Regions from separate parts of the Homo sapiens genome. Here region 2 is linked to region 1. The links are contacts of gene promoters, found by promoter capture Hi-C in blood cells and fetal thymus (Javierre and others, 2016). All regions are on one chromosome and are shown on one strand. Each heading gives the region's core, a stretch centred on a gene start or on the middle of the fragment in contact. The rest is flanking DNA. Distances are from core to core; before and after follow the strand shown. Region 1 holds the start of POF1B (POF1B actin binding protein). Region 2 overlaps SATL1 (spermidine/spermine N1-acetyl transferase like 1).

Evidence for each region. The method cuts DNA at HindIII sites, captures the fragments that hold promoters and counts their contacts. A CHiCAGO score of 5 or more calls a contact.
Region 2: a contact is called between a fragment that was not itself captured here and the fragment with the promoter of POF1B in region 1, in 1 of 17 cell types (M2 macrophages). The highest score is 5.2, in M2 macrophages.

Annotation. Positions count from the first base shown.
Region 1 is chrX:85,378,228-85,381,155 of GRCh38, forward strand. POF1B (POF1B actin binding protein) reads right to left here and starts at 1,438. Exons shown (of 17, transcript NM_024921.4): 1 at 1,412-1,438; 2 at 946-1,268. The coding sequence starts at 1,227. The HindIII fragment of the contact is 3,418 bases long and covers 103-2,928 here.
Region 2 is chrX:85,140,483-85,143,410 of GRCh38, forward strand. All of the region lies in intron 2 of SATL1 (spermidine/spermine N1-acetyl transferase like 1), which reads right to left. Among named protein-coding and RNA genes, the nearest start is that of SATL1, 100 kb to the right of the region's middle. The HindIII fragment of the contact is 4,774 bases long and covers 1-2,928 here.

The DNA.
Region 1 (2,928 bases), core at 188-2,687:
ATTGGTAATAATAATGTAACATAGCATCATATCCCAATGACTGCTTTTTGAGATTTTTGTATCTTAAAAACATAATTTCAGTTTGGACAGAATTTTCCAGAAAGCTTAAAACATGCAAATTTAATGTAAAAGGAGTCAGAGGATAAAATACACATAAAGCTGTTAATTTTATACAGTCTTGCAGGGTTACCTTGTATTTATTGGGAAGGTTATTAACACAGGTATTGGTGCTAAGAATAACTCTTAAGAAACAAACGTATTTCATTTTATGGGATGTCTTAGAGTTCCATCTTTTGTAGCTTTCATGTAACAATTGCTTACATCTTGCCTTCCTCAATCCTATATCAACTCTTCCAGTACTCTTTCTACAAGTATTCCATAAATTATTCACCTAGGCTGTACGATAAAAAGTGTGTCATTCTTGGAAGATGAAACACATATGACAATTCAGACATCTGCACCTCTCACTTATCCTGGAGCAGCTATACTATTTGCTGAGCACAAATAATTGCTTATCACTCAGACATGCCACAGTACCTGTATCACCATATTTGATACCAAAAAAAACCTGTTTGCTTCTGATATGAAATTAATCAGTAGGAACTTGTTCTAATAAAAATCTACTGTACTCAAGTTGAGAACTGCTTTGCAGTAGGGGCAAAGGGATTCCTTGGATCAGATCTTTCAGTCAGATCAAACAGAAAATGAGCCTTCCTATACTATGGTTAGATTATGAAAATCAGTGAAACCCGGAAACAAACAACCACAGACACTAGTAAGTGAAATAACAGCCAAGAGATGAATTTGGGTGACTATCCAAGGCATATATAACTGCAATCCACCAAAAGATATCCTGTGGAATAGAGGCAAAGAAGCAGAAAGGAAGAGAAATCAGGTTGAAGATTGCCTTTCTCCACTAGTCTGGCATAGCTTTCTTTGTTGTACCTGAGAATGGTCGCTCCAAACCAAATTTTGGTAGGAGGAGGTGGTTTTGAGAGGGGAGAGCACTTCCCGTGAGTTGAAGGGGTCCAAGGCCTGCACCACCTTGTTCATGGGCCCACTGTAGGTCCTCACTCGCTCATACACTACATTTTTTTCTGGAGGCTGCTGGGCTTGGCTTGACTGATGGTAGCAGTGGTAATGCTGGGGCTGGCACTGCAGCACCTCTGGGAGCTGCTGGGTTCCACAGCTGCTGCTGCTCGTCTCACTCCAATAGCTCGAGCTCATCTTCTTCCAGTGGTCAGCAAGGGACCTCCCAGATGTTCTACCTAAGGAACAAACAGAGAAATATAATGGAAAAAAAAGACAGGCAAGCAGGCAGTCAGGCAGGCAGACAGACACACGACACACGTGTGGAAACCGCTTATCAAAACCTCTGCCAATAGTGGTGCCGGGAAGAGAAGAAAGCTACCTGAGCAGCAGCAAGAGCAGGTCTGGCAGCTACAGAGGAAGCAGCAAAATATTTGAGCTCAAATGGAAAATGGAGCCACCCTGTGACATTGCTCCAGGAAATGGTACTGACACGCCCTTAGGGGCGGATTCACTTAGCAGGTTTACATGCCAGGAGAGGCCCTGCCTTGCCACGGAGATAGCTACAAGGCTGCCCAGCAGGTAAAGGAGTCTGTGAAGAGCAGAAATGTAGAATGTCAGGGATGAAGCCAGAGTTTCCAAGCACATGGGCTTAAAAATTCACAAAGACATGAAAATGCAAAAAACTTGCTAGAGAAAAAAAGTCACACATGTTATATGAAAGTGTCTTTTTATGGTTCTTAAGTTTAGCAAAGGTAGTTACCAGCATAAGTATTATTATTCCAGATTCCCAGACTAAAATAATGAGTATTAGTCTAGGAATACACCAATTTTCACAGATAAATTTGCATTCTTTGCAAAACCCATCTGATAATTGCAGTTAAGGAAGATTACTAAGGGGTCTCTTTCTAGTGACTCTGTCTAATATATGGACTTGTTTATCTTACTCAAAGCCTCGTATTCTTTTCTATCATTTGTTGAAGGAAATTTGTCTAAATGATTGAATTGCTGTATAGAAAGGTGGATGGTCAAGAAAAACCTAAAGATTCCACAAATGCTTTGCATTTTGGCATTCACATTTGTTGTTTTTCATTTATGCAAGGGAATTTCTCCTGCCCTTATATGTGCCCTAGGAAACACTGAGTTTGATTGACTTTTTAATATCTAGTTATTAAGGGAGCTGCAAGTCCTGAAAGATGCCTTAACTGACATAATGAGATTTAAATGTGTTTACAACTTACATTTATTACTACTTGAAATTTTGATCATAATGCCTACTTACCCTCAGATTTTGCTATGCAATATACTTCAGCACCACTTAAATCCAGAATACTCTCATTCAAAGTGACTTTAGTAAAAAGTATCTTCCTAATGTGTATATGTGCAATAGGACCTAGTATACTACCACCATTCTAGAGAGGAAGAGAATGTTATCCAGGGGGCTAGCAGCATTTTTTTTCTGCCCAGTGAACAAAGTGTTATGATTTACTATTCACTCTGTGTCAGGTACTGTTCAAGGGGTTTTATGTGGATTATAATTATTTCATCATTGAAGTGACTTTATGAGGTTTATAGGTGAGAAACTGAGGCACAGACATGGAGAGTTTGAAAAACTTTCCAAAGTTAAATAACCTGTAAATGGTGGGCCTGGCATTTTAACATATGGAGATTCATATTAGAGTCTAAGCTCTTATCTGGTATATTATACAGCTAGATAAATTCTCAAATTGTTCCATTTTACAGCTACATAAATTCTCATATTGTTCTGTATCCTGCCATCTAATAAATCTTCTAGATGTCAACATCAAAAAACACTTCAGAAATGCTAGCCATGAGAGACTTTAAAGGAATCTTTAGATTTTCTTTTATGGCTGAGGAGTGTGCAAAAAGCTGAAAATT
Region 2 (2,928 bases), core at 289-2,788, 240 kb before region 1:
TTCTCCCTTTGAAATATGTTTGGCCATATGTAGATCAGACAAATATATCCTAGTTCATCTGGATGGACTCTTGTTATTATAAGATTAGTTTTAATGAATTATTTAAATACACTTATCTATTATATCTGATTATACTTTAATTGCAGTCCACACTGAATTCCCCCTTATACAATCAATTCAAAATTTAGAATCCATTGTTAACCTTCTTGGATTTAATTGTGTCCTGTTTCATGCATCAGATTAACAGGTTGCTAGCTACTGTTCCCAATGTGTACAATACAGAATATTTACGTTATATCCCTAGAATTTTTTTCAAAGGCATTTTGGTTGTTCCATATTATTGTCCCTTTAATTAACATGGTTTGTCAGAATACTTTTGGCTGCAAGTAAGAGAACACCCAACTAAACATATTTTAAACAGCAAAGATTTATTAATAAATCTCACATAACAAGAAGTCTTAAGTTAGGCAGTCCCAGGCTTGATTCATTAGTTCACTGAGGTTATCAAGGACCCTATTTTTTTCCCCATCTTTCCGCTCTGGAACCTCCAGTTTATTGGGATGATTCTTCTCAGAGTTGCAAGATGACTGCAGCCATTCCAAGCATCACATCATGACACAGCTGTATGCAAAGCAGGCAGAAAGGGGCTGCAAGGGAAGGCTGCCCTTTCCTTTTTTACTGAAGAAACTTTCTGAGAAACCCCAGCAAACTTCCCCTTATGTCTCATTGGCTAGAATTGTTCCATGTGGCCACTCCTAGCTGCAAGACAGGCTGAGATAACAGTAATTAACACTCCCAGCCTCTGTTGGGAGAAGAAAGGTGTTTATTGGGCAATATGTTGTTAGATAGGTAACCACCATTATGTGCTTCACATAGATAATTTACAGCTAACCTTAATGTCTTAGAAAGGATATAGATGAAGAAAGGCAATATTAACTACACCCATAGTATATTGGATGTGTAAGCTGAAATGTTGCCTTCCTATGACTTGTCAGTCTGATAGTCTTGATGCTACTGTATTTCTGAAGTCTCACCATATGGTAGGACTTTCTAAGTGTGTCACAGTGAATTTGCTCCATATTGGCTGGAAGTTTCAGGAAAATAGAATTTGGTTTAATAGAAAGAAGTATATTTCTGACAGAGCTGGTTGTTTCCAGAAGGTTTGAAACACATATCACCAAAATGTTTAAGTAGAGTGCTTCAGTTTACAATAACAACAATAATAATTACAATAATAACATATAAATTCTGAATCAAGAGATACTCAGCCTCCTGTCAAAAACCAATGGATTTTTGTAGAGGGAATTCATGTGGAGCTTAGATAAAGAATTAGAGTCTATCTATGATTTATAACCTTTTGTATCTTATTTCTTACTAAAAACTCAAATAATTATTTGTCTCTTACCATAATGAAAACAAATAAACAAAAATGCCTGTTTTCCAAAAATGTGCATGTATATTTTCATAATATTGTACTAATATTAGGTTGGTGCCAAAGTAATTGCTGTTTTGCCATTAAAAATAATTGCAAAAACTGCAATTACTTTGGCACCAACCTAATAATATTAAGTACATACTTTATTGCTATGATATTATAAAACAAGGAGATCATTTTTTAGAAATTGAAGTAGAGGCCGGTCACGGTGGCTCACGCCTGTAATCCCAGCACTTTGGGAGGCTGAGGCGGGTGGAACACGAGGTTAGGAGATCGAGACCATCCTGGCTAACACGATGAAACCCCGTCTCTACTAAAAATACAAAAAATTAGCCAGGCGTGGTGGCGGGCACCTGTAGTCCCAGCTACTCAGGAGGCTGAGGCAGGAGAATGGCGTGAACCCGGGAGGAAGAGTTTGCAGTGAGCCGAGATCACACCACTGCACTCCAGCCTGGGTGACAGAGCGAGACTCCATCTCAAAAAAAAAAAAAAAAAAATTGAAGTAGAGTTGTTGAAAGCAAACAAATTATACCAGGTCAAGGTAAGCTGGGTAGATAAAAAATTATCTGTATTAACAGGTGGCATGAAAGTTCAACCTGAAGCTCTCATGAAACTGCAATTTTATTAGTGGCAAGAAAGGAAGAATGGTGAATAAAGTACAATAATAGATACATTCCAGCAGAAATACTTACATAAAAATAAATACACATGCCAGTAGGTGGGGAGAAGAGTGGATTCTGAGACACACATGGGCTACAAGGTTAATGATAGCTTGTCAAGGTGACTTAGATGGAAAATATATGGCAGATATGATTAGGTGAATTGGCGTCCTGACAAATGTGGATCTAAGGAGAAAAAGAGAGAAAATATCCTAATGAAAGCCTGGTATCCCAACTGGATTACATCTGTATTTGTTTCCTTACCAGATACTTCCTTCTCTGTCTTCTCTTTATTTTCTCCTCCTGAAAACTCTCCTAACTTTTGTTTATCTTTTTCTGCCCTCTTCCACTTTCATTTCTTTCTCTTATCTTTTCTTCATCTCTTCTCTTTGCCAGTGATACCCAATGATGTCCTCAGATGATTGTTCAGCACTCTTGGTGGCTGTAAGGTCAGAGATCTCTGGTTATGAGCAGGGTTGGAAAATGTATTAGTAGCAATATGTTTCAAGCAAAGGTTTAACTTTGGCAAATAATAAAACATGAACCTTAGTACAAAGATGAACAAATAGTTCTTGGAAATAATAAATGGCTATGACTGAACTCAAGTGGTATACAACTCATACACAATTCGTGCATGTTCCATATACAGGAAGTATAGATATGGGGATCTGACAAGTGTACAACCAAAAAGTTAACTGGTAATTTATACATGCTGTAAAGAACAAGTTCAAAATCCATGGTCCCTTATCTCCTATATAAACCATTCACAATCTCTGCTGATTGCCTCTCCTAATTGCAGCAGTCTTTAAATGTAGTTGTCAAGACTGCCTTCTT